Linked DNA regions of Homo sapiens: all the other regions are linked to region 2. Evidence: promoter capture Hi-C in 16 types of primary human blood cells and fetal thymus (Javierre and others, 2016). All regions are on one chromosome and are shown on one strand. The core of a region is centred on a gene start or on the middle of the fragment in contact, and the rest is flanking DNA. Distances in the headings are between cores, read along the strand shown.

Region 1 (4,660 bases), core at 199-2,698, 180 kb after region 2:
TAGCTGAATTTATTTAAAACTCATTCCTTGGATTTGAGAATTTGATATAGTTTGCCAATCCCAGACACATTGAAAGTCTGATATTTGGTATTTGATAAAGCATACTAAGAGCAATAGCCTGAAAGATAAGAGTGTCAGGCTGGGCGCGGTGGCTTATGCCTGTTATCCCAGTACTTTGGGAGGCTGAGGCAGGCAGATCACCTGAGGTCAGGAGTTCAAGATCAGCCTGGCCAACATGATGAAACCCTGTCTCTACTAAAAATACAAAAATTAGCGAGCGGGCGTGCACCTGTAATCCCAGCTATTCGGGAGGCAGAGACAGGAGAATCACTTGAATTCGAGAGGCAGAGATTGCAGTGAGCCGAGATCGCGCCATTGCACTCTAGCCTGGGCAACAAGAGTGAAACTCCGTCTCAAAAAAAAAAAAAAAAAAAGGCTGGGCGCAGTGGCTCATACCTGTAATCCCAGGACTTTGGGAGGCCAAAGCGGGCGGATTATGAGGTCAGGAGTTCAAGACCCGCCTGGCCAACAAAACCCCATCTCTACTAAAAATGCAAAAATTAGCTGGGTGTGGTGGCGCGTGCCTGTAATCCCAGCTACTTGGGAGGCTGAGGCAGGAGAATTGCTTGAACCTGGGAGGCAGAGGTTGCAGTGTGCTGAGATCGCGCCATTGCACTCCAACTCTGGGTGACAGAGCAAGACTCCGTCTGGGGGAAAAGGAAAAAGAAAAAATCTACATATTGTTTCTTGCAATGCAACAATAATTTCCGTTTAATTTTGTTGGGGTTAAAGTAGGTAGTATAAATGTTACAAATATTTGCATATGTTTGGAGGAAAGGCAGACTAATGAAGAAGTTATCACAATAGCTTCCATTGTCACATCTTTTTGTCCCAAACCTTTTATTGGAAGTTAATAAAGTAAGAAAAATAATTCGGGCCAGGCACAGTGGCTCATGCCTGTAATCCCAGCACTTTGGGAAGCCAAGGCAGGAGGATCACCGAAGCCCAAGACTTCCAGCCTAGGCAACATGGCGAGATCCCGTCTCTTCAAAAAATACGAAAATTAGCCGGGTGTGGGTGGCATGCACCTGTAGTTCCAGCAACTTGGGAGGCTGAGGTGGGAGGATTGTTTGAGCCAGGGAAGTCAAGGCTGCAGTGACCCGAGGTTGTGCCGCTGTGCTCCAGCCTGGGTGACAAAGTGAGAGACCCTGTCTCAAAAAAAAAAAAAAAATGTTGAATTCAATATCTAAAATATGACATGTCTGAAAGCACACAAAGACTTCCATGAATACCCCGCCTAAAAATTGCTTACTTCTTGGTTTTTCATTATTTGGAGAGAGTGTTAATTTTTAAATTTTTTTTAATGGAAATGTCTTTAAAATTGTACAGATTTTCAGAATGACTGACACTGCCGAAGCTGTTCCAAAGTTTGAAGAGATGTTTGCTAGTAGATTCACAGAAAATGACAAGGAGTATCAGGAATACCTGAAACGCCCTCCTGAGTCTCCTCCAATTGTTGAGGAATGGAATAGCAGAGCTGGTGGGAACCAAAGAAACAGAGGCAATCGGTGTGTATTCAAAAGAATAAATGCAGATAGTTGATCTGGCAGAGGATAGCTTTAATCTGCTAGACTGGAAGGCCAGTGAGGGCAGGGACCAGTGTTTTTGGTATGGCATACCTAGTACCTAATAACAGTACCTGGTACATCATTTCTGATAAATATTTGCTTTAATATTTTTTCAGCACCATGTATTTTTTCCTTGCTGTTCAAGTGCGTGTGTTTTTTTGTTTTTAGATGTTTTTTCTGTAGACTAATATTTTCAATGCAAATCTACTTTAAAAACCTAGAGTTTTCTACAGCTTGTTCAATTCCATAAAGAAAACATTGTTTCGATTTTACTTTAGGAAGAAGTTTACAAATGGAAGTTACTTTTACTTAATAATTCAAAATAGTCAAAGGAATAAATTACCATACCATTTTTGTACAATTGAATAGATTTCACTTTAATTTGGAACTATTCTATTGGTTATATAGTCTGCCTATGTCTCTGTAAAGTGTACCTAGTATAATACTGGAAGAATGATTTCAATCTTAGGAAAGTTTTGAATAACTGGCACTATAACATTCTATTGTGAAAAATGTTTTTTAGTCTTATTTATTGTGTATTAGAATGAGAAACCAGAAGCACTGCTATGGGTTTGTCATATGTTTTTTTTAACAAGGGAAGTTTAAAGATCTTTTTTGTTTTATTGTTGTAGGTTGCAAGACAACAGACAGTTCAGAGGCAGGGACAACAGATGGGGGTGGCCAAGTGACAATCGATCCAATCAGTGGCATGGACGATCCTGGGGTAACAACTACCCGCAACACAGACAAGAACCTTACTATCCCCAGCAATATGGACATTATGGTTACAACCAGCGGCCTCCTTACGGTTACTACTGATAGAAATGTTGGCAGCTTTTAGTAAAAGCATTTACTCTGTTACCATGAGAAAAGTTTGGGTGTCTTCTGTTGGTCATAGTTTTACATCTGATTTTACAGAATGGATTATTGATTTTTTGGAAGTTGAGACTTTAAAAAAAATAGATCTTACTTGCGAAATGCGATGGTTGCTGGGAATACCTGAAACTGTGGATTATATTGCTTGACTTCTACCTCAGAATCTTCTTTGTTTCATGACTTAATAGTGCTTTAAGTTTGGTATATTATTTGACCTCTAGGAATTCTTTGTTTTACACAGAAATAAAAATTTTAAAATAGAAAATGCTTTTACTTTGTAAGGTAAGAGAGTATCCATATGCTTAGATGTGCTCGTTTCTAAAATTCTAGAGGTTGATATAATCAGCTCATGAATGCACAGCTATGCTTTTTGTGATAGATTGTACATAACATCAGCAGTTGAAAGGTAAAACAATTGCTTTTTTTTTTTTTTGCATTTGTTAAGTGACTATGGTACTTTGTGATTCCTTAATCTATAGATGAGTCAGCTCCACACTTGAGTCTCTTTTTAGAGGGAAATCAGTAATAAAGCTGTAAAATAAGGAAGGAATCATTGTCAGTTTGTGTCTTGATCTGGTGGTGGTTGGGATAAGGGTACACATCATTTTATACAAACACTAAAGCTTTTTGCTAACAACATAGCAGGTCAAAATTCACACATAAGAAAGTTTAACTCTGTACTGTTCACACTTTTTAATCCTGTAAATAATGCTGCATTTTGATGGTTCTTACTTTTTTGGTATTTAATGTGGGCTGATTTTACAATGTTATATTCACTTCCAGATGCATACCTCTGCTGCTTTCTCTCCTATAAATAGTGATGCTATAAACTTCCTTTCACAGAGATCATTCTATTTCAAATCACTTTAATGATTATTACAATGATTTCATTCAAATAAAAATTTTAAAATATTTAAGCATCTTCACTCCCAAGTTCTGGCAGTTAGCCCATTTATTAATATGGTGAAATGAGATTTTTGGGTTTTTTTATGCTGTCCTTCATATCTGTTGAAAAGGGCTTATTTGGTTTAACAGTAACATTAAGAGTGCAAATTTCAACATAGGTCAAAGGAATTAACAGGCACCTTCCTGACTTTATTAGAGTGACAAAAAAATATATATATTTAAAAAGGCGTCTTCCAGCCAGGCATGGTGGCTCATGCCTGTAGTCCCAGCACTTTGGGAGGCTGTGGGCGGATCACTTGGGGTCAGGAGTTCGAGACCAGCCTGACCAACATGATGAGACCCCGTCTCTACTAAAAATACAAAAATTAGCCGGGTGTGGTGGCACATGCCTGTAATCCCAGCTACTCGGGAGGCTGAGGCAGGACAATTGTTTGAAGCCCAGAGGCGGAAGTTGCAGTGAGCCAAGATCGTGCCACTGCACTCCAGCCTGGGCAACAGAGCAAGACTTCATCTCATAAAAAAAACGGGGGCATCTTCGTAAACCTATTTTTAATGCCTTCTCTCTTAGCACCCCACTCTAGGCCCTCGAGGTTGACTTCTCCAGGTACTTCATGCTCTCCATCTACCTCTCCCTTTTATTCTCCCTTCCTGAAGAGCCATCCTCTCGGGTAACTGTTTTATTGGAAATGACCTAATAAGTCGGGCAGTCACACTAAGATGCAAATACAATTTTAATAGTAAGGGTTTTCCCTGTAACCTCCCTAATTACATCAGTAGGCAAGAAGCCAGTGCTGTTATATAAAGATAGGATTTGATACTACAGATATTTAGTCTAGATAGTAATGTCCTGACTACACCCCAGAATCTTCTCTGAAAGCAGAAGTGTTATCAAAAATATCACCTGGTTGGGTATGGTGGCTCACACCTGTTATCCCAGCACTCTGGGAGGCCGAGGCGGGAAGATCACTTGAAGCCAGGAGTTCGAGGCCAGCCTGGGCAATGTAGCAAGATCCTGTCTCTACAGAAAATTTTAAAATTAGCTGGGTGTGGTGGTGCACGCCTGTAGTCCTAGCTACTCAGGAGGCTGAGGCAGGAGGCTCCCTTGAGTCCGGGAAGAGTTCAAGACTACAGTGAGCTAGGATCATGGCACTGTACTCCAGTTTGGGCTAGATAGATGCTGTCTCTTAAAAGTAATGATTTATAGGCTGGGCACGGTGGCTCACAGTTGTAATCGCAGCACTTTGGGGGGC
Region 2 (4,849 bases), core at 1,465-3,964:
TCGTGCATTCTGAGGGCTCCATTACTGGCAAGTCCCAACTCTCCTGGGCACCAGGGATCCCCCACCCCATGCCATAGCTCTATACTCCCCAAGCAGCCCCACCTTCCCTAGCGGTAACCCTCTGTTCCTTCTGGCCGCGCTCAGGGTCTTCCATGTGAGACTCACCCTAGGCCCTGGCTCAGACTGTCCTGCCTGCTGAGAGCTCCCACTCTTCCCTATCTCACCACTGCTTCTTAAACCCCATACTCATCCAACATGGCCCTCCATGAAGTCCACTGCATTGCTACTATCCATGAATGAGAGCATGACATCCACCCCCTCCAGCACCAAACCAGAGACCAGAAGCTCATCCTTGACACCCCCAATCTAATTAATAACTAATTCATGCTGATTCTGACTCTACCTCTTGAATCTCTAAGTAATATCCCTTTTCCTGTCCCCTCTCCCTGCTCCCCAAGATCACTGCCCTCTGGATTCAGAGAGTCCTGTGTTTGCATTGTTTCTGCCACATCCTGGAAGTATGACTTCAGGAAAATCATCTCTCTAGGCCTAACTTTAATGGACTATAAAACAGCTCTATTAACAGTGTCTACCTCATAAGGTTGGCATTTAGATGAAATAACATAATGTACTTTATGCATAGTACATAGCTTAAAGTAAGTCCTCAGTAAGTGTTAGCTGCTGTTATTGTTGTTGTTCTTACTATCATTATCATGATTCCTACCTTAGTATCTCCCACCTGGGCTAGAAGCCTTCTACCTAGTCACTCATGGAGAGTGACCACAGCAGTGTGGAATCATCCATGGCTACTGTGGGAATATTTGTCCCTTGAAAACAGCCGATGATGAAAGAAGGCACCAAGCAGAACAGCCTCATAACCACGCACAGACATCAGCTATGAGATCATTCCTCTCCCAGGGGGCCCAGGCAGAGATATGGTATTCTAGGGATGGAGGTCCCTTGGAGAGCATCTAATTCAATTTCCTGATTTTATTCAGCAGGTCATGGATGTTTAAAAAAAATTCCTGATTTTAGGATGGCAAAACTGAGATCTTGTGAGGATAAAGGACTTGCTTATAGCCAATTTTCTTTTACAAAAATGTATCTGGGCTACTCTGTATTTAGCCCTGTGCTTGAATCCAAGCTTTTCACCTGACACACAACCAGTCAGGTGAAGAGCTTGGATTCAAACCCAGGTTTCCATTAAATCACACCATCTACAGACAGAGGAGCAGTTCACTAAAATAATGCTTACATTCCCATGTGCTACCCAAAGGGAAATAGCCAGGATTCTGTATGACCAATAAATCATCATGAGAAATTATTTCAACCAGAAGCTGGAATGTGAAACACCAAGTTGAACTGTCAGAAGACTGGAAAACACTTAGTGCAAATACAGATAAGAACACATGCTTTCAAGCTGGCACTTGCCCTTCGAACACACAACACAAAGTGGTCTCAACACAAACTGGCTCAGTGTCAAAGTAGGAATTTTGCAACACACCCTACAGTTAACAGTCACTTTTCCCCTCAACACCTAGACTCTTTCTTAACAAAATCAGGATTTGGGGAGAAAGGAAAGTTGACAATAAACTGTCATTTTATAAATGGTGAAACTAAAGCTTAGAGAAGTAAAGCAATTAGTCATAGTCCATTATGAATGTCTTTGCTGGATACCCTTTCCTCTATGCCAAGGGAAGCAGTTAAAAAAAATAAAAAAGATGTTTGTCTAAGGCTTATATGGGAGGTGTATCCCTGTGCATTACTTAGAAAAGTCCCCCAATAATTTTTTTTTTTTTTTTTTTTTAGAGACAGGTTCTTGCTATGTTGCCCAGACTGGTCTTGAACTCCTGGGCTCATGCAATCTGCCACCTCACTTGGCTTGTTTATTAACCTTTTATGGATCATGGGCATATCTACTGAATCTACTGAAACCTGTGAATTCTCTTCCCAGAAGTGATTCCATAAGGGCAGGAACATAACTTTGCCTATAATTTTAGCTCTTCCATGCAGCCCTTGGCAATTCCTGAGCCACAGCAGTGAAAGAAAGCTTGCCTTAAAGTGTTACAGTGATATGAAATGATTCAAATCAGCTTTGCAGACACTGCCCGAACCTGAAAACTTTCTATAGGAGGAGGCTGTATGCATAACAAGTGAAAAATAATTACGATGCTGTTTTTTAGTATTTGAATCAATGCATGAAGTTATTATTTTTCAGCATGTACACACAGATTAAATAAAATGTATTTACAACACAATAGTATAGCCAGATGATATTCAACATCTATATTTCCAAACTGTTCTACCAAATGGTTCTAACTAATGGGTCCCAGCACTACAGATATCCTAAAGACACATTATAAGAATCACCAGCCCCTGTCTGCCTTCATCAGAGCCTCTCACATCCTGTCCCAACATCATGTTCAGTTAATGCGAATTCTTGCTTTAAGAAGGCACAGAAAACATTTACACTATTTATTGTAATTTAAACATCTGCAATTTACCATGATATCTCTTCCCACCTACAGGAAAGATATTGCATTAATATTGCAGCATTGAGTTTCTAATAATACAATTTGCATTGGAAGAATATGACTACCCCAAAACTTGCCTGCTAAGCGTCCATAAATGCTTCCTTTAACTCAGAGGACCTGGAGTTCTGCTAGAAAATTGAATCTGTGTTCAGCAGGCTTTCCTTCCTAGTGACCTCTGCATGCCCCACAGGCTACCCCTGCCTATTTTACACCAGAGTTCTGCAAGTGGGGCACCAAAGCTGGATGGTAACATGAGCTGGCTGCAGCCACAAATAGCAACAGGCCTGCCATGAGTGAAGGTCCAAATATAGACCTGCTGTGGCTGAGTTGCCACTTCTTACTACTCAAGTGTCACCAGGAGAGGTCACATGCCGTGCTCTGAGTTACTTTCTGTGCTGTGAGGGGTTTTAGACTTGTGGCTCTACCATGGGTCTCAGATGGCTGGTCATGTGGAGAGGGCTGGGGACTGTCACGGCAAGACCAGGAAGAAGATTCCTTTTTTTTTTTTTTAAGTGAATGAGTTTCTAAAATTATATGCAAAATTATGTCTGTGTCCTTATAGAATCACTTCCGGGAAGAGAACTCACAGGTTTCAATAGATTCTCAGAGGTGCTCATGAACCATACAAGGTTAAAAAACATTTTGGGGGCACTTTTCTAATCAAAGCACAGGACACACTTCCCATATAAGCCTTAAGCAAACATTATTATTTTTTTTTTTTACTTGCCATGGTATGGCATAGAAATGGGACTATCCAGCCAATACATTCCTTATGGACTATGATTGACTATTTCTCTAAGCTTTAGTTTAATAATTTATAAAATGACAATTTAGTGTTAATGTTCTTTTCTTCCAAAATTCTGACTCTGTTAAGAAGTTGAAAGAGTCTAGGTGTTGAGGAAAAAAGTGAGTGTTAACTGTGGGTGTGTTGCAAAATTCCTACTTTGATGCTGAGCCCACAGACCAGCATAACAGTATAATCTCTCTCTCCTCTCTCTCTCTCACATGCACGCACGCACACACACACACACACACACACAGTGTAATAGTCAGAGTTGTCCAGAGAAACAGAACCAATAGAATGTATACATATATGGAAACAGATTTATCATAAGGAATTGACTCATGTAATTATGAAGACCAAAAAGTCCCAAGATCTGCAGTTAGTAAGCGGAAGATCCAGGAGAGCCAATGGTGTGGTTCTAGTCCAAAGGCCAGCAGGCTCAAGACCCTGGAGAGCCAATGTTTCCATTTGAGTTGGAAGGCAGGAAAAAAACCCATATTCCCACTTGAAGGCAGTTAGGCAGGAAGAATTCCCTCTTATTCAAGCTTTTGTTCTATTCAGACCTTCAATCGATTGGATGAGGCCCACTCACATGAGGGAGGGCAACCAGTTTTACTCAGTCTACTAACTCAAAGGTTAATCTCATCCAGAAACACCATCACACACACACACCCAGAATAATGTCTGACTAAACACCTGGTGACCCAATCAAGTTGACACATTAAAATTAACCATCATACATATATATACATATGCTATAGACAGTTTATATTCCCCTAAAATTCCCATGTTGAAACCAAATCCCCAATGTGATGGTATTTGGAAATGTGGCCTTTGGGAGGTGATTAGGTCATGAAGGCAAGCCCTCATGAATAAAATTAGTGCCATTACATTGGGGGTCCCAGAGAGCTCTTCCATGTGAAGATGCAGTAAGAATACAGGTATCTACGAACCAAGAAGCAGCCCTTCCTTACCAGACACTGAATCTGCTGGTGCTTTAATCTTGGACTTTCCAGCCTCCAGAACCATGAGAAATAAATGTTTGTTGTTTACAAGCCACCCACTCAATGGTATTCTGTTATAGCAGCCTGAATGGACTAAGACATATATTAATATATAGAGAGAGGATAATTTTATTTTTTCTTTTCTTTTTTTTTTGAGGCAGAGTCTCACTGTTTCGCCCAGGCTGGAATGCTGTGGTGCAATCTCGGCTCACTGTAACCTCTGCCTCCTGGATTCAAGCAATTCTGATGCCTCAGCCTCCTGAGTAGTTGGGATTATAGGGCATGCACCACCACGCCCGGCTAACTTTTCTTTTTCTCTCTCTTTTTTTTTTTTTTTTTGGTATTTTTAGTAGAGACGGGGTTTGGCCATTTTGGCCAGGCTGGTCTCGAACTCCTGACTTCAACTGATCCGCCCACCTCGGCCTCCAAAAGTGCTGGGATTACAGGTGTTAGTCACTGCACCCAGCCACCCACGACAATTTTATAATTAGAAAGATTGACAGTTTCCGCTTGAAAAACCAAATAGA
Region 3 (4,316 bases), core at 1,773-4,272, 180 kb before region 2:
GCACCAGGATTTAAGGCAAAAAGGGGTAGGCTAACTCTACTAGTTTTCTACAAATATAGTCAGGTTTATGATTAGGATTGCCTTTATCTATAAAGCTGCTAACCTCTGGGCCTTAAGGGAAAAGGTAAACACCAGCTGCCAGTCTTTTGGTTGTACAACAAGAAGGTCTGGACAAGAACTCTTTTTCAGAATTGGTTCAATTGATATTTTGTTCCTGGAGTCAGAAAGTACCTTGCCAGTAAAGGACTTTTTTTAATATATTAAAACACTTAATGAGTGTTTATGATGAACAAGGTACTCAGAAGTTCTTTTAATACTGGACAATGCCCCTGGCCACCCAGAATGCCATGAATTCAACAACAAAGAGGTATACATGCCCCCAAATACAACATCTCTAAGTCAGCCTCCAGATCAAGGGGTCATAAAGACCTTTAAGGCTCATTACACATGCTACTCTACAGAAAGGATTGTTAATGCTGTGGAAGAGAACCCCAATAGAGAGAAGGTCATGAAAGTCTAGAAGAATTACACCAGTGACAATGCCATCATTGTTACAGAAAAATCCATGAAAGCCATCATGCCCAAAATAATAAATTCCTGCTTAAAAAAACTGTTTCCAGATGTTGTACATGACTTCACAGATTTACCACAGAGCCAATACAGGAAATCATGAAAGAAACTGTAGATATGACAAAAAAAGGTTGGGAGTGAAGATTTCCAAGACATGGACCTTGGAGAAATCCAAGAGTTAACATACCAGAGGAATTAGCAGAAGACAATCTGATAGAGATGAGTGCTCCAAACCAGTGCCAGACATGGAAGACGATGTTGAAGTAGCAATGCCAGAAAACATATTGACATTAGATGATCTGGCAAAAGGGTTCCGATTATTCAAGGCTGCTTTTGACTTCTTTTACAATACAGACCCTTCTATTACACAGGCACTGAAACTAACGCAAATGGTGGAATTAGGATTGGTACCACATAGAAACATTTTTACAGAAATGAAAAAGCAAAAAGTCAGACAGAAATTATTTCTGTAAAGTTACACTGACTGTGCCTGCTTCTCCTTACATCCGCTCCACATCCTTCCACCTTTGCCACCCCTGAGAGAGCAAGACCAATCAATCCTTCCTCTTCCTCGGCCTGCTCAATGTGAAAACAGTAAATATGAAGATCTTTATGATTCACTTCCACTTAATGAACAGTAAATATATTTTCTCTTATGATTTTCTAGTAACATTTTTTCTCTAGCCTACTTTATCGTAAGAATACGGTATAAAATACATGTAACATACAAAACATGTGATCAACTGTTTATGTTATCGGTAAGGCTTCCGGTCAACAGCAGGCTATTAGTCAAGTTTTGGGGGAGTCAAAGTTATACATAGATATTTGACTGTGGGGGTTGGTCCTCCTAACTCCCACACTGTCCAAGAGTCAACTGGACTAAAAACCAATGAACTGTACATTAAAGGTGAACTTTAGGGTATGTAGATTTTATGTCAATACAGCTGTTTAAAAATTTTCATTCTGCCATTTATTGGCTGTGTGATATCACAGTTACTTAACCTCTATCCCTCAGTTTCCCCATTTGTGAAATGGAAAAAGGATACCAACTTTTTGATGACATATGTAAAGCATTTTGCATGGCATACAGTAGCTGCTAATTTGTATCTGCAAACACTAATTATTGAATACAAGAGAGGTAAGTACCAACAGTGGTAAAACCACCCAAACTGATTAAGTTATACAACTCTATGTGGTCATTATTAGTACATACAACTTTATTAACTGGCATGAGAAGATGGGTAAGACATTACCGAATGAAAAAAGAACTCCTATATATATATATAAAAAATCATGAACCCTTACACAAAAACTATTCTTTTGGTATTCCCTATCTCGGTAAATAACACCACCATCCACCAGATGCCCAAAGCAGAAATGTAGGTACCATTCTTCACTCCGGTCTCCCTCACTCTCCACAGCCAATGCCCAACATAAGAAGCAATGAAATATTGGTTGACAGATTGAGTTTTTTAAGGGGAGCCTGCCTCATCAGTTCTATTATCCTCAATTATCTTGCGGAAAACAAAAACAGACCAAGTAATGAAACTGGCACTTAATATCTCATAAGCTGGTCACATCAAAACAAAACAAGAAGAGGCCCAATGTCATTTTGTTTGGCCTACTAAAATCCAAGTGAGCATGAGAATGACCAAGAGCATTTACAGTTTTACCAACTCTGCAGGATGACCTTAAAGGGACAAACTTGAGCCTCACGTCAGCCTCAAGTTCTTGAAGATTGGTACCCTCTGCAAACTGTGAAGACGACCAAAATACACAATCCTACAAGGTTGTTTTCCCAAGCTCTCTAGAGTGGTGCCATTGAGAACTGTTAAATCCAGTGACACACAAGGCCCTTTTCACAACTGTAGATTTCTAAGCTGATTCTCAATTTCAGGAAGGCAACTTCATGAAGGCTAAGATGCAAAGATTTATAACCTGCAGAGAGGAGGTCTCGCTGTGTTGCCCAGGCTGAACTTGAAACTCCTGGGCTCAAGTGCTCCTCCCACCTTGGCCTCCTGAGTAGCTGAGACTACAGGCACGTGCCATTGCCTAGCACAATCTGCATTATCTTAAGGCTACATGCTTCATTCTTCACTGCCTAATAAACATTAGCCGACTGCCTGCTCTCTATAGTGAGCACCCCAAGGGGCAGCAGATTAGACACAGACTAAACCAAAATAAAGTTTTGAAGTCTGGAAAAGAACTTTTGGCAGGCAGGAGCTCAAAACCAGCCTGGGCAACATGGCGAAACCCTGTTTCTACAAAAAATACAAAACATTAGACAGGTATGGTGGTACATGCCTGTAGTCCCAGCTACTCAGGAAGCTGAGGTAGGAGGAATGCTTGAACCCAGGAGGCAGAGGTTGCAGTGAGCAGAGATTGTGCCACCACACTCCAGCATGGGTGACAGAGCAAGACCCTGTCTCAAAAAAAAAAAGAAAGAAAAAGAACTAAGACCCGATCCTGTAAACATCCACAACACAGACTACAACGTGCTGTAAATGTACATTGTCCTCCAAGCCAAGGTGGCCTGGAGGGACAGAATGTGCCTGGAAATGGGGGTAAAGAGGAAGTTCTAAAGAACACAAGAGAGTAGAGAGGCATTATCAAAAGTGGTCCAGTGTGGTACAGCATTAGGTATAGGAGAGAAAATTGGAAAAGCCTCATATGCCAAATTAAGGAGTCAGCATTGTCTTTCAATACACAAAATTGTGTCTTTTCAATACACAAAAATTAACCTAGCTTTTAATTACTGTAATAAAAGTACTATATATATATGGACTACATGGATTCCAGATCCTGGCCACATCTAAAGGCAAGTAAATAACAAAGTGAGTCTTAGAAGGAGACCACCAGCAACTACATGACAGATAAGTGGCAGAAGGATTAGTGAGAAAGTACCACAGTAGTCTAGGGAACAGATGCAGACTTGGGAGTCTGGGAGAAAGGTATTCCTTAGGAGAGGAAGGAAATCTTACTATTTCAAGGAGTCTGAAAAAAAAATCTAATTTAGGAATGTGTCTGGTCACCCTGCCCCACTCCTAATCCTGTTAGGAACATACACACCTTCCCAAATCAAGGCAAATGATATCTGACATGCCTCCCTCCCCTTCTCTCACATACATCAAGCCAGAGCTCTAGCTTAAGATGACATTATAATAAAAGTGAATGAGGTGTTCAATGTATATTCCAAACTGTTTCATCTTATAATTACCAATGTTTGCCTTAACCAATTTGGAAGGAAAAAAAAAAAATCAAAGCCAGGACTGTCAGATGGCGAACAGATCTACTACTCTCCTTTGTGTACAATAGGGATAAAAGTAATACTATCTCATAAGGCTTTTTGTGAATTAATGCACATAAAGTACTTAGCATAGGGCCTGACATGTAATTATGTGCTGAACCAACGAATACTGTCTATCAGTCGTATCATTATTATTATTCAGAGGCCACCACAGGGATCCTTGAGGAAGGATCTATTGGCTCATTAAGTGAACCAAAGACCTATGGCAACTATTTCTCTGAAGACTCCAGGCCCTTCTATTCCTGGTACCCCCTAACTCTTCCTCTTAATCATTTGACTTAAAATGCTTAATTAAAAGGCAAGAGATATGATTCAAATAGACCTAAGGGCTGAATCCACTACAGGTTCAGTATCTCTCATCAGAAATGCTGAGATGACCAAGAAGTGTTTCAGATTTGGATTTTTTTTTTTTTGGAAGCTGGAACATTTGCATATACAT
Region 4 (4,582 bases), core at 308-2,807, 140 kb after region 2:
TCTAACTGGATCCCCATCTAAAATCTCTATCCTACTGCAACATCCTCTAGTCCCCTTCCTTATCCTATTGCTATGTAATAAACTGTGTATTTTATTAAAAAAACAAAAACAAAGAAAGTCAACCAAAAGAGAATATTCATTCACACCTATTTACACACTCATTCAATATCTACTTATTTAGTGCCTACTCCATTCCAAATTCTGTGTATTCTTCCAGTTCGGATACTAAGAGGGATGGCTGTGTAACCATCAGTGTACCACAGCATCTGTCCTCCCCACAATGTACCACGGCATCTTTCCTCAATTCCCCAAATAGATGGGCACCCCTCCACCACCACCTGTGATACCCAAAGGACTATAACATTGTGTTTACTCTCACAGCATTTCACATATAAAGCTGGTACTTGTGTATGTAGTTTATCTCCCTTTTCAAAATATAAGCTCCCCAAGGGCAGGAACTAACTAGTGGGTCTGCTCATCTCTGGATCCCTACAGCACTTGCCAACTGCCTTACCAATGTACAGACTGAAGGAATATTAGAAAGTGAAGTTTAACAAACCCACAGGACCAAGAGAAGACAAACTCACCTCAACATATCTGAAAGACTGTATCTATTGCAGTCAACTCAAACCCCAAAGAACAGCCCTATAATTTGTTGGAACTACAGAGTCTGGTGTGATTCAGAGGGAATGGAAAATTAAAGAAGGAATGAATGAACATCAAAAGAAAGTAAATCGGTATAGAGTACCAAAAGGCAGCCTGAGGTGTTAGATAACCAAGATTGTGGCACCTGTACATGGCAAGGTAATCTTGGCTGAACAAAATAAGTGAGTGTAAAATGAAGCCAAACAGTAATACAGTAGATCTTATTTGTAAACACTGACAAAATCAGCTAAAAGTCACAACAGTAGACAAGCTGGCTTTTCTGTTAGTCTTTTGCAGGAGAGTAAAAAGGTAATTTACAACTCCAGTACTCAAATGACAGCAGACGGCCCGAAAATTAACCCACATCACAATGAAAGCTAAATGGCTTGCTTTAATGTTAAAAGAAAGCTGCATCCAAATGTGATCTCTTTCTCTCTTGGCCCTTGCAACTCCCAATTAAGCAAGCTATATAAAAGTTAACCCAAAAATTATCACAGCTTCCAGGCCAGCATCCAAGCAAGGCTGCCCACAACATTCAAGCATTAACTCAATTAAAAATTATTTACTGGAGGCCTATTTGGTGCCAGGCACTGTGCTAGGTGTTGGAATACACTGGTGAAAAAGATAAGGTCCTATCCTTTTGGGATGCTACTGGGGGAAGACGGATTATAAATAAGTAAATAACACCTGCATGCTTACTGGCATGCTGTGGTGAGCAATTATAGGAAACAAAGGTAGGGCTGGGGCCCAGCACTTTGGGAGGCTGAGGTGGGCAGATCATTTGAGGCCAAGGGTTCAAGACCAGCCAGGCCAACATGGTAAAACCCCATCTCTACTAAAAATACAAAAGAATTAGCTGGGTGTGGCCGGGCATGGTGGCTGATGCCTGTAATCCCAGCACTTTGGGAGGCCGGGGCAGGCGAATCATGAGGTCAGGAGATTGAGATCATCCTGGCTAACACGATGAAACCCCGTCTCTACTAAAAATACAAAAAATTAGCTGGGCGTGGTGGCGGGCGCCTGTAGTCCCAGCTATTCGGGAGGCTGAGGCAGGAGAATGGCGTGAACCCGGGAGGCGGAGCTTGCAGTGAGCCAAGATCGCGCCACTGCACTCCAGCCTGGGCGACAGACAGAGACTCCATCTCAAAAAAAAAAAAAAAAAAAAGAATTAGCTGGGTGTGATGGCACATGCCTATAATACCAGCTACTCAGGAAGCTGAGGCATGAGAATCGCTTGAACCTGGGAGGCAGAGGTTGCAGTGAGCAGAGACCGTGCCACTGCACTCCTGCCTGGGTGACAGAGGGAGACTCTGTCTCAACAAAAGAAAAAAGAAAAGGGGCTGGGTTAGATAGTTCTGGAGGTGGGTGCTCTAGACAGGATGGCAGGAAAGACCCTGAAGGGGTGACCCTGAGGCCAAAGTCTGAAAGGAAAGAGGAAGGTAAGAGAATTCCAGGCAGGGGAAACAGCAAGTGCAAGGATCTCAGGTAAGGCAAGAAAAGGAAAGGAGATCTATGTTAGCAGAACACAGTGAGGGGCACAGCAGCATGGCAGGGGGAGCTGCGCCCAGCGCCTGGTCAGTGGGAGGTATTTAAAAAGGGGAATGACATGATCTGATTTATGATTTTAAAAGCTGGTCACTTAGGCTTCTGTGTGAAAAATGGACTGCAGACAACCCAGAGTGGATACTGGGGGGCCTGTTAGGAAAGAGGTGATGGTGGCTAGAGTGGGAACTATGGCTATGGGGTGAGGTGAATGCACTCCAGATATATCCCGGAAGTAGAATGCACAGGACAAACTGATAGCCTGCATGTGAGAGGTTGGGAAGAGGACTCAAACATGACTCTTGGCAAATGAGTGCATGGTAGGGCCACTGACTTGGATGGGGAAGACGGAAGGCAGGTGAGAGCTGGAAGGCATATCAAGAGCTCCATGTATTGACGAGAGTCAGAAGCTCCAAGAAAGATCTGAGCTAGAAATTAAAGTGTGGGCATCATGGGCATATCGATGGCATTTGAAGCCATGGGAGGGTGGGGAGGAGTTGCAGGTGGGACAGTATTACCTAGGAAGACAGTGTGGACAGAGAAAAGGAACCAGGACCAGTCCCTGGGCAACCCCATGATTAGGAGTAAGAAGAAAAGCAGGAAACAGTGGGGCCAGAGGAGCTGAGAGGGGTGTTGTTTTGAGGAGAGGGAGTGGTCATTTGTTAGGAATGCTGCTGAGAGAGGTGAAGTGAGGTGAGGCTGAGATCTGGCAACCCCCTGGTCACCCAAGACCCTGGCAGTTTTGGTGCAGAGGTGAGGCAGAAGCAAGACTGTAGAGTATGGAGAGTGAACAAATGGCAGGAGAAAGTGAATGGAGCCAGTGGGTTTGGATGTATCTTCTGAGGTGTTTTCAGGTGAAGAAGAGCAAAGAAGTGAAACAGGAGAGGGATGTAGGAGGGAGGGAGATCTCCTTTTTAAGATGAGAGCAACTAAAGCTATGCTATCCAATATGGTGGCCACTAGCTACATGTGGCTATTTAAATTTAGATTAAGTTAAAAATTCAGGTCCTCAGTCTCAACAACCACATTTCAAGTGTCCAATAACCACATGTGCTGGTGGCTGCCACGCAGATACAGAACATTTCCAGCAGTGCAGAAAGTTCTGTTGGTCAGATGTATGCTCCTATACTGATGGAGAAGACCCCGGAGAGAAAGGTGGTTAGGAAGGAGAGACAATCTCTGAAAAGATGGGAGGAGGAAGGGATGGAATGGAGGCTACCCCAGAAGAAGGGGCCCCTAGTAGGAAGAGATGAGGGACAGGTCATCCAGCACAGCAGGCAGGTAGGAGAAGGTAGCAGCAGCTGCATACTAGACTAGGTGGTGGCAAAATGAAGACATTCCCTTGGTCAAAGGTGCCTATCTTGTCAATTGAAAGGGAAGCCACGGGGTGTGCCTAGGAAGGGGAGAGGTCTGGAAAGGGGAATAGGTATGAAATAGTTGCCTTAGGGAGTAAGAACACAAACTCACTGGAGAGGCCACACTTAACACAGAACACTTCGCAGAAGAGAAGTGGAAAATGGTAGTGAACATTTGAGGGAGGAGAAGCATCTCAAGTTGGGGGGAGGTAAACTCAGATAGTTTGTTTTTTTTTCCCTTAAATCCTAGTCCTGTCTACACAGCAGAGCCATGACGAAGCTGTAGGATCGCAGCAAGGTTTTCTACTAGCTGCCCTTTCAAAAAGTTCTTCCCCCTCCATCCTACACAACTCTCAGAAAGGATGACATTGGTTCTATTTTCAGTTAAAACGGCTCCCTCCACCCTCCTGTCTGAATTGCTTCCCCAGCCCTTAGCTGCATCTCAATTTACGACCATGGCTTGTATTTTCACATAAATAATAGAAGACATGGATCTATTAAAAATGGCAGAGGTAGGTAGGAGTTACAAACCAGCCTTTATCTACGAGAAGTGAGTAATATATACATTTATCGAATGATGTTAAAATTACATGAAAGACATATTCTGTGTTTAAACAAAATCCCCAAGCGTCTCCTCCCTGCTTCTCCACAAACAAAAATTATTTTTTGACATTTTCTTTAAGGTTTTATGAGTGAGTAAACATTTTCATTTCCACAGAACTATTTGATCTCAACCACAGAGTTTCAGTACTTGTTTTTGATCACACAAGTACGGTGGATTGGTTTTGTGTTGGCCAGGGGGAGGGAGGGCCAGAAAGAGAGTTAAAATTACCGGATCCCTTTTATCTTCCATTCTGAGACCTTACATTTGCCAACTCCTTTTTCCCTGTACATTTTTTTAAAGTATGAAATCTGAGAACCTCAAAGGCTCTCACTGCTCAAAGATCAGCCTTTTCACAGTCCACTGAGGACTCACTGGAAATGTTACAGAAATACGGCCTGCCAACTTGGGTGCCTCTGGGTAAAATCACCCACAGTTG
Region 5 (4,964 bases), core at 1,994-4,493, 160 kb before region 2:
TACATTGTGGAATGATAGACACAGCACATTCCTCCTAACATCAGCACTGCTGTACTAACACTCAGAAGACCCACACTGACTTCTACAGCAACTGGGATTCCTGCCAATGCAGTTAAGGTTCACTTTGCCTATAAATGTGACCAGCTCCCAGACCACCACCTTTTTTCTAGAATGTACGCCACCAATAACCCCTTGATCCTTTGACATAACAGAACACACATAATAGGCTGGGCTACGGCACCAGAAGGACCTAGGTTCACACAATTCCATCACTTAACAGCCTTGTGACTTGATTTCTAAAGCCTGTTTCCTTTTCTGCAAAACAGCGGGGAAATCCAAAACGGATGTTTTAAGACAGATTCCAAACTAGCCTTCAGGTTGAATCCAACATTAAAGACATGTTACATTTGGTCTATAGTGTTTAAAATTTTTTTAATGCTACATTTAAAAGTCAGGAGATCCATCAAAATAGAGATAGCCAGTTTAGAAGCAAGTCAAAGATCCACCGACTCTGGGCCCACATTTTTGCTGAGCAACAATCAGCTAGTGGCTGCTCCTTTCAAAGAGGCACATACTCTGTAGTTCAGAAGCCATTACCTTTCTTTCCTCCTCCTTTGCTCATTTATGTTACCTCTGGCCCCTATAGGGTTTGAGTTTGCAACCCATTTTAAAGACTAAGAATAAAACTAATGGTTGTGCTCAGTGAAAATGCTTATTAAGGCAGCTATTATCATTTGGTCACTAGTTAAGTTTGGTGCTGAGCCTGGAGTCTTACTACTTTATCTTCCTCCTCCACTTTTTACTTCATGGGCACTGGTTTGTGCACTACAGCGAAAGAAAAGCACATAGAACCATTCCTGTATCAAACGCCTATGGCCTAACCCAAACTGCAAACGGTTCCATGATTATTCACCACAGGCATCAGCTCTCCAACCTCTGATGTGCTGCACAGGCTGGCACAACCTCCCTCCCACACATGGGAGCCTAGACCAGGGAGTTGTTTACAAGACAAACGGTTCGGAGGGGGGAAACCAAGTTTTGTTTTGTTTTTTGAGACGAAGTCTCGCTCTGTCGTTCAGGCTGGAGTGCAGTGGCTGATCTCGGCTCACTGCAACTTCCACTTCCTGGGTTTAAGCGATTCTCCTGCCTCAGCCTCCCAAGTAGCTTCGATTATAGGCGCCCACCACCATGCCCGGCTAATTTTTGTATTTTTAGGAGAGACGGGAATTCACCTTGTTGGCCAGGCTGGTCTTGAACTTCTGACCTCAGGTGATCTGCCCGCCTGGGCCTCCCAAAGTGCTGGGATTAAAGGCGTGAGTCATGGGGCCGGGCCGTACTTTTTTATTACAAAGGTTGACTTACACACAGAGTAGTCAACTTCCAAATCCTACTTCTATAAACTGAGCAGGCACTACCAGGCCACCCAAAGTTTAAATCGCCGTGACAAAAAATTTAAAAAGCGAAACTCAGCCAGGCAAGGGGGCTCACGCCTGTAATTCCAGCCCTTTGGGAGGCCGAGGTGGGCGGATCACGAGGTCAGGAGTTCGAGACCATCCTGGCTAACATGCTGAAACCCCATCTCTACTAAAAATACAAAAATCAGCCGCGCGTGGTGGCACGAGCTTGTAATCCTAGCTACACAGGAGGCTGAGGCAGGAGAATCGCTTGAACCCGGGAGGCGGAGGCTGCAGTGAGCCAAGATCGCGAGACTGCATTCCAGCCTGGGTGACAGGGCAAGACTCCCTCTCAAAATAAATAAATAAATAAATAAATATTAAAAAATAAAAAGCCAAACTCCTACAGCAACGTGCTCTGGGAATACAGTTCAGCTCCAAGCCAGCTCAATGGGGACAAATAAAAGACCAGTGATGAGTCCCCAAAACACCGTCCCCAGGGTTTTCCGACAGCCAGCAGCCCCATTGAGCTCCACAAGCTTTTCTAACTATGCAAAAAACCAACCAGGAAAACAATCACCAACTTGAGGTTTCCAAGGTTGGGTCCTGTTTGAATTTATTTTTATTTTTTAACCCAGCATGTGTCCCTAGACTCAAAGGGAACATGAGCCTCAGGGTGCAAACTGTCCTTAGCAGACACTCTTCCCGCTAGCAAGGGACCGCACCGTCACCTGAGGGGCAGCCAAGAGGCGGGCGGTGCACCTGTGCCTTCCAGAATAGGAACCCCACCCACTTGCCCCTCTTCCCCACCAACGACACAGCCCAGTAGTTGACTCAGGTGCCAGGAGAGAGCGCGGGGAGGCTGGGCGGTAGCCAGGGAGACCAAGGGAAGCGGTTGCCAGAGAAATGCGGCGTCAGTCAGGGCCGGGGCTGCAGGCGCGGGGCGGGGGAGGAGAGACGCGGCCTCCTCCCAGGCGGGCCTGGCGGGAGGCACCCCGGCTTCTAAGAGCGAATTCGGCTCCCGACTCTCTTCCCCCAGCTGAGAGCACGGTGCAAGGGGCCAGGGCTGCAGGGAGCAAAGTGCCCCCGAAAAATAAGCGCGCGCCCACGAAAGCGCCCAAGAGCCCAGGCGTCTGCCTGGCTTTTCTCGGTCACGGGGTCAACGCGGGGCCGCTCACAGAGCCTTCTGGTCTCCCTGGGTCCTCTAGGAATGAGGCAGCAAAGCCTCGGTCGACTCGACCGCTGAGGAACCCATGACATGAAAAAGCCTCGGGGAATGACGCCGGGTGGGACACCCCAAGGTGAGGACCCCTTTGTGGGTGAGTCCCCCCACACTCAGGTGACTCCAGGCGGGCACAGGCCCGCCCAACCGCTCGTCATCACGGGGGGCGACTCGTCCAGGGCCCCAGCCGCTGCTCCGCCAAACCTGAGGCCGCCCCTGAGTCTGGGCACCTGGCCTCGTCCGGCACTGAGGAGAATGACCAGAACGCCAGGCCACATGCACCCACTCGCCAGGCTGAGGGTCCGAACAGCACAGCCCAGAGTGGGCTCGGGTCGCTCCCCGCCTACGCCACCTCCGCGGCCTGCAAGCCTAACCCTCTCCCGCCCATGACCAGGACCCACCTCAATGCCGCCAGCCCGGCGGGTCTCCCGGGCACGAAGCCCCGCCAGTCTTCCGCCCTCGCGCCACACTACCTGGCCAGCCCCGCCCCCGAGACTCCCTCTCCGGCGCCAAGCGAAGGTGTGAAGCCACGTGACCTGCCCAGGATTGGGAAGCCGCACGAGGGGCTTGAGCCCTCCACCTTAAAGGTGCCGCGACCGCCGCCGTCGTGGGGCTCTCCACAGAGCACGGGGTCTACGCCGTCAGCAGCCCCGCCCCGTCCCGCCCGGGCGCCCCCACCGCGCGCCGGGTGCTAAAGAGACCCGCAGGGGGCGTGAGCTTCCAGCGCCAGCGGCTTCGGGTCTCCCGTGCGACGGCAGTGTGAGAAAGAAACGTTCCGGGCGCCGGTGCTCCTTTATGTCCGGTCAGCTCCCGTCTGGACAGACGCTCGAGGCCGCCTGGAGGCCGCAGTGCGGCTCGGAGGCCCCACCGGCCGCCCCCGCAGGGCTGCGGCGCCTTTAAGCCCAAAGGCCCTGAGTCACGAGGAGGCTCCCTGCCCCCCTCGCCCTCCACCCCTCCACGAGGCCCCACGCCCGCGGGCACGTGACCGCGCCCCGCCCGGGACTCGCCCGCACGGGGCGGGGGATGGGGGTACCGCGGCGCCGGACCCGGCTGCGCGCGGACCGTTAGCTACTGCGGCCGGGACGCGGCCCCGCCCAGGCGAGCGGCGGGTGGCTCTTACCAGCGGGAACGCCATGGGGCCGGTGTGGCCCTGCGGGGCTGACGGGCTGACCGGCCAGCCGGCGGGCGAGAGACGCGCACGCACGTGGGCACTATTTTTGCAGCGGGCCGCGCGCAGCCCCGCACCCCGGCAGCTTATGAAGCTCCTACGAGCCGCTCCTCGGAGCCGCCCCCCGGCCGGATGCGGAGCACCTGTGTCGGCCCCGCCCGGGCCCTCGCCTCCGCCCCCTCGCGCCCCGCCCCTCCTAGCAGGCCGAGCCGAGGAGGGCTCCGCCGCCCACCCGGAACCCGGCGGGGACTGCCGCCGCTGCTAGCCACAGCTGCCCCCTGGGGGGCCAGAGACCTAAGCCTGAGCGCGCCATCACCTAAGTGACCCTTGCCGAGTCACTGTCTGCCCTGGGCCTCAGTTTCCCTCTTAACGAAAGAGGGCACGATTTACAAGCCCCTGCGAGCGGCGGCGATCGCTTCGTCAGTAGAGCCTCGTGTCCGCGCTCCTTCTCTTCCAGTGATCTCTCCAGGGCGAGAGCCTGCCCTGGCATCCTTGGTCGGAACTGTAGCCCCTGGGCTCCAGGAGGCGCACTCACTTTAGACCCTCTGCTCCGTGCGCTGCAGAGGGGGCCGCGAGAGTCAGGAAGTTCCAGAAAGTTCCAAAGACATCACTGGTCCTCTTTGGACCGGAGTTCTCCGGAGAAACCGCTTCCGGCGCTCCTGACACACTGAGATAGAAAGTTTCACAGAAATAGGGCAAGGGATAGGGCGAGGGCTCCAGGGCAGGCGTCCTAGGGCACCTGGCGCAGGGGCGGACCGGAAACCCCAGGCAAACGCAGAGTCGGAGATGGCATTCCAGGCGGAAGATCAAGCAAAGGCAGAGAGGGAGGACGGCACCGAGCGGCTCCCTCTGACCAGGACTGAGGATGATGCGACCTGATACCGCCGGAGGGAAGCCTGGGCCCGGTTTGTAAGGGGCCTTTATTCTGCAGACAGCAGGAAAACTATTAGAGAATTGTAAAAGGGGTTGGCAGTTGTCGGGTCTGTTTTAAGGTGTTGCTGGAGACATAGAAGAGGTTGGACAGAAAAGGGGGAAAACAAGGGACTGGAGTGGGGAGGAAAGGGACCAGAGTTTATTGAACATTGCTAAGTGTTTTACATGTGTCATGTTATCATGATACTATTTAATAAGCACTAACTATGCTCCGGTCCTCTCCTGGCACTTAGGAAGGATGGTGCTG
Region 6 (4,664 bases), core at 965-3,464, 130 kb before region 2:
ACCTGTAGTCCGAGCTACTCAGGAGGCTGAGGCAGGAGAACCGCTTGAACCCGGGAGGTGAAGGTTGCAGTGAGCCAAGATGGCGCCACTGCACTCCAGCCTGGTGACAGAGCAAGACTCCGTTTCAAAAAAAAAAAAAATCAGTAGCATTGTCCAGGCACAGTGGCTCACACCTGTAATCCTAGCAAGCACTTTGGGAGGCCGAGGCAGGCAGAATACCTGAGGTCAGGAGTTCGAGACCAGTCTGACCAACATGGAGAAACCCTGTCTCTACTAAAAATACAAAATTAGCTGGGCATGGTGGTGCATGCCTGTAATCCCAGCTACTCGGGAGGCTGAGGCAGGAGAATTGCTTGAACCCGGGAGGCAGAGGTTGTGGTGAGTGGAGATCGCGTCACTGCAGTCCAGAGCCTGGGCAACAGAGTGAGAACTCCATCTCAAAAAAAAAAAAAAAAAAAAACCCATTGCACTCCAGCCTGGGCAACAAGAGCAAAACTCCGTCTCCAAAAAAAAAAAAAAAAAAAAAAATCAGTGGCTTTTTTTTTTTTGGCGGGGGGGGACGAAGATGAAGTCTCGCTCTTGTCCCCTAGGCTGGAGTGCAGTGGCGCGATCTTGGCTCACTGCAACCTCCGCCTCCCGGGTTCAAGCAATTCTCCTGCCTCAGCCTCCCAAGTAGCTGGGATTACAGGCACCCGCCACCACGCTCAGCTAATTTTTGTATTTTTAGTAGAGACAGGGTTTCGCCATGCTGGCCAGGCTGCTCTTGAACTCCTGACTTCAGGTGATCCACCAGCCTCGGCCTCCCAAGATGCTGGGATTACAGGCATGAGCCACCACGCCTGGCCGTGAATTCATTTTTGACAAAGGTATCAAGAACATACATTAGGGAAAGGAGAGTCTCTTCAATAAATGGCGCTGGGAAAACGGGATATCCACATGCAGAACAATAAAACCAGACCCCTATCTCTCACCATATGCAAAAATCAAATCATAGTGGATTAAAAACTTAAATCTAACACTTCAAACTATGAAACTAATAAAAGAAAACATTAGAGAAATTCTCCAGGACATTGTACTGGGCAAAGATTTCTTGAGTGATACCCCACAAGCACGGGCAACCAAAGCAAAAGTAGACAAATGGGATCACATCAAGTTACAAAGGTTCTGCACAGCAAAGGAATCAACAAAGAGACAAGCCACAGAATAGGAGGAAAAAATTTGCAAACTACCCATCTGACAAGGGATTAATAACCAGAATACGTAAGGAGATCAAATAACTCAATAGGAAAAAAAAATTCAATAATCCAATTTAAAAATGGGCAAAAGAGCTGAATAGACATTTCTCAAAAGAAGACATACAGATAGCAAACACGTATATGAAAAGGTGATCAACATCATTGAGCATCAGAGAAATGCAAATCAAAACTACAATGAAAGGCCAGGCACGGGTGGCTCATGCCTGTAATCCCAGTACTTTGGGAGGCTGAGGCAGGCGGATCACCTGAGATCAGGAGTTGAGACCAGCCTGACCAACACAGCGAAACCCCATCTTTACTAAAAGTACAGAAATTAACGGGGCGTGGTGACGCACGCCTGTAGTCCCAGCTACTCAGGAGGCTGAGGCAGGAGAATCACTTGAACCACAGAGGCAGAGGTTGCAGTGAGCCAAGATCGCACCACTGCACACTCCAGCCTGGGTGACAGAGCAAGACTCCGTCTCAAAAAACAAAACAAAACAAAAAAAGATATATCATCTCACCCCAAGTAGGCTTATATCCAAAAGATAGGCAATAACAAATGCTGACAAGAACATGGAGAAAAGGCAACCCTTGTACACTGTTAGTGGAAATGTCTGGAGAACAGTTTGGAGGTTCCTTAAAAAACTAAACATAGGCCGGGCACGGTGGCTCACACCTGTAATCCCAGCACTTTGGGAGGCCGAGGTGGGTGGATCGCGAGGTCAAGAGATCAAGACCATCCTGGCCAACATGGTGAAACCCTGTCTCTACTAAAAATACAAAAAATTAGCTAGGCGTGGTGGCAGGCACCTGTAATCTCAGCTACTTGGGAGGCTGAGGCAGAAGAAGAATCACTTGCACCCAGGAGGCAGAGGTTGCAGTGAGGCAAGATCACGCCATTGCACTCCAGCCTGGGAAAAAAGAGTGAAACACCATCTCAAAAAAAAACACTACAAATAGGCCAGGTGCAGTGGCTCACGCCTGTAATCCCAGCACTTTGGGAGGCCGAGTCGGGCAGATCACTTGCGGCCAGGAGTTCAAGACCAGCCTGGCCAACATGGTGAAACCCCATCTCTACTAAAAATATGAAAATTAGCCAGACTTGGTGGCGGGCGCCTGTAATCCCAGCTACTCAGGAGGCTGAGGCAGGAGAATCGTTTGAACCTGGGAGGCGGAGGTTGCAGTGAGCTGAGATCATGCCATTGCACTCCAGCCTGGGTGACAGTGCAAGACTCCATCTCAAACAAACAAACAAAAACTAAAAATAGTGCTACCATATGATCCAGCAATCCCAATGCTATGTATATACCCAAAAGTAAGGAAATCAACATATTGAAGTTATATCTGCACACCTACGTTTATTGCAGCACTGTTCACCATAGCCAAGATTTGAAAGCAACTTAAGTGTCTATCAACAGACAAATAGATAAAGAAAATACGGTACATATGCACAATGCAGTACTATAAAAAAAGAATAAAAAAGAATGAGATCCTGTCATTTGCAACAACATGGATAGAACTAGAGGTCATTATTTTAAGTGAAATAAGCCAAGCACAGAAAAACAAACTTCACATGTTCTCACTTATTTGTGAGGGCTAAAAATTAAAAGAATTGAGCTCATGGAGTTGGAGAGTAGAATAATGGTTACCAGAGGCTGAGAAGGGTAGTGGGTGGGGGAAGTGGGGATAGTTAATGGGTACAAAATTATAGTTAGATAGAATGTGTAAGATCTAGTATTTGACAGCACAACAGGGTGACTACAGTCAACAATAATTTATTATACATTTATAAATAACTAAGAGAGTGTAATTTGATTGTTTGTAACACAAAAGATAAATGCTTGAGAGGATGGATACCCCATTCCCTGATGTGATTGTTATGCATTATATGCCTGTATCAAAATATCTCACATACCCCATAAATATATACACCTACTATGTACCCATAAAAATTAAAAAATAAAAAGAAGACGGTCTTGCTAGCAGACTGGCTCTAGAGACTTTCTCCCTTGTGGCTTTGGAGAAATTAAGCATCCGTGTTGGGAGGCCCCTATGGCAATGAGCTAAGGACGGCCTCTAGAAGGCAAGGGCAGCCCCCAGCTGACAGCCAGCAAGAAGCCAGGGCCACAATCCTACAACTGCAAGGAAGTGGATCGTGGCACCATGTGACTTGGAAGTGGACCTTTCCCCAGTACAGCCTCCAGATAAAAACTCAGCCTTGGCTGACACCTCAGTTGTAGCCTTGCATAAGATCCAACTAAGCCATACCTGAATTCTCGACCCATAGACACTGAGAAAATAAACGTGTGTTGTTTGAAGCCACCAAATTTATAGTAATTTATTATGTAGCAGAAAACTAATACAATTGATTTAAAAATGTGAAAGTAGAAAAAAATTTGGAGGAAATTCTTTTTAATTTTTATTTATTTTTGAGATGGATCTTGCTCTGTGGCCCAGGCTGGAGTGTGGTGGTACCATCTCAGCTCACTGTAACCTCCACCTCCTGGGTTCAAGCAATTCTCCTGCCACAGCCTCCCAAGTAGCTGAGATTTCAGCGCACCACCACACCCAGCTAATTTTTTTGTACTTTTAGTAGAGACAGGGTTTTGCCATGTTGGTCAGGCTGGTCTTGAATTCATGACCTCAAATGACCCACCCACCTTGGGCTCCCAAAGTGCTGGGATTACAGGTGTGAGCCACTGAACCCAGCCTGGAGAAAATTCTAAGTGAAAAGTTTAATTGAAATGTGAATGGGGAAAAAAAAGTATTAAATATGAAAGCATTGAAAAGAAGCAGAAAAGTTTAAAATATTGGACAATAGACAAAAGTACAACTTCTGAATGACTATATATAGGAATAAAAAATAAGGAAATATATAATTAATGGTGGTCTTCTAAATGGTGGACTTATTAATAGTTTAAACTTATAATTTTCTGAGTTTTCCAAATGTTCTATGATAAGCATGTATTACCTTTAGCATATTAAAAAAAGTTTACGTTTTTAAAAGCAATTCTGCAAAATTTGTCAGAATCTTCTATTCACTGTAAAGGCGGTCACATGGGAGGGTTGTAGATCCCACTGTGCCCCTGGCAGACCCTCCTGCCACACATCTCACCTGACACATAAAAGCAAACTAACCTGCTAGGCAGTTTCCCCAGGGTCTATATCCAGGTGGATGTAATAGCCACTTTGATTACCAACCCCCCCATCCCCCGCCACCTGCATGTTATGCCTTTGTGGCCTCTGGTCTAGTATCTGATTATCTGCTGATCAATAGCAGGGCAGAGGCCTCATCTTGGTCATTTCCTTGGCCTCATCCTGGGCCAGGATCTGGCATGCCGTGGGCCCATGTCCAAATTGGAGAGAATGACTGAGATTACTGTGGCCTTTTAGCTGGGCAGATTGCCACTCATGGTCCCAGGATGG

The links. Contacts are between HindIII fragments. The CHiCAGO score rates a contact against its expected background, and 5 or more counts as called.
Region 1: a fragment that was not itself captured here is called in contact with the fragment with the promoter of FSD2 in region 2 in 15 of 17 cell types (total B cells, naive B cells, naive CD8 T cells and 12 more); the score reaches 28.1 in total B cells.
Region 3: a contact is called between a fragment that was not itself captured here and the fragment with the promoter of FSD2 in region 2, in 3 of 17 cell types (naive CD8 T cells, activated CD4 T cells and total CD4 T cells). The highest score is 8.7, in naive CD8 T cells.
Region 4: a fragment that was not itself captured here is called in contact with the fragment with the promoter of FSD2 in region 2 in 4 of 17 cell types (naive B cells, total B cells, naive CD8 T cells and 1 more); the score reaches 9.7 in naive B cells.
Region 5: a contact is called between the fragment with the promoter of CPEB1 here and the fragment with the promoter of FSD2 in region 2, in 4 of 17 cell types (naive CD8 T cells, total CD8 T cells, activated CD4 T cells and 1 more). The highest score is 9.3, in naive CD8 T cells.
Region 6: a fragment that was not itself captured here is called in contact with the fragment with the promoter of FSD2 in region 2 in 7 of 17 cell types (naive CD8 T cells, naive CD4 T cells, total CD8 T cells and 4 more); the score reaches 13.3 in naive CD8 T cells.

The regions. Positions count from the first base shown.
Region 1 is chr15:82,987,621-82,992,280 of GRCh38, forward strand. It overlaps RAMAC (RNA guanine-7 methyltransferase activating subunit), which reads left to right. Exons shown (of 4, transcript NM_031452.4): 3 at 1,390-1,568; 4 at 2,261-3,437. The coding sequence starts at 1,399. The coding sequence ends at 2,447. It also overlaps a transcript of C15orf40 not described here. Among named protein-coding and RNA genes, the nearest start is that of RAMAC, 3.7 kb to the left of the region's middle. The HindIII fragment of the contact is 3,353 bases long and covers 1-3,125 here.
Region 2 is chr15:82,803,355-82,808,203 of GRCh38, forward strand. It overlaps FSD2 (fibronectin type III and SPRY domain containing 2), which reads right to left and starts at 2,715. Exons shown (of 13, transcript NM_001007122.4): 1 at 2,612-2,715. RefSeq lists an enhancer at 2,999-3,098. The HindIII fragment of the contact is 1,284 bases long and covers 2,049-3,332 here.
Region 3 is chr15:82,627,607-82,631,922 of GRCh38, forward strand. It overlaps CPEB1 (cytoplasmic polyadenylation element binding protein 1), which reads right to left. Exons shown (of 13, transcript NM_001365242.1): 2 at 758-950. The coding sequence starts at 853. Among named protein-coding and RNA genes, the nearest start is that of CPEB1, 18 kb to the right of the region's middle. The HindIII fragment of the contact is 7,050 bases long and covers 1-4,316 here.
Region 4 is chr15:82,946,601-82,951,182 of GRCh38, forward strand. All of the region lies in intron 1 of HOMER2 (homer scaffold protein 2), which reads right to left. Among named protein-coding and RNA genes, the nearest start is that of HOMER2, 3.8 kb to the right of the region's middle. The HindIII fragment of the contact is 7,495 bases long and covers 1-4,582 here.
Region 5 is chr15:82,644,120-82,649,083 of GRCh38, forward strand. CPEB1 (cytoplasmic polyadenylation element binding protein 1) reads right to left here and starts at 3,244. Exons shown (of 13, transcript NM_001365242.1): 1 at 3,018-3,244. CPEB1-AS1 (CPEB1 antisense RNA 1) reads left to right here and starts at 3,651. Exons shown (of 4, transcript NR_046096.1): 1 at 3,651-4,689. RefSeq lists a silencer at 3,464-4,033. The HindIII fragment of the contact is 5,175 bases long and covers 1,932-4,964 here.
Region 6 is chr15:82,669,565-82,674,228 of GRCh38, forward strand. All of the region lies in intron 14 of AP3B2 (adaptor related protein complex 3 subunit beta 2), which reads right to left. The region is part of intron 3 of CPEB1-AS1 (CPEB1 antisense RNA 1); the gene reads left to right. Among named protein-coding and RNA genes, the nearest start is that of CPEB1-AS1, 24 kb to the left of the region's middle. The HindIII fragment of the contact is 8,602 bases long and covers 1-4,664 here.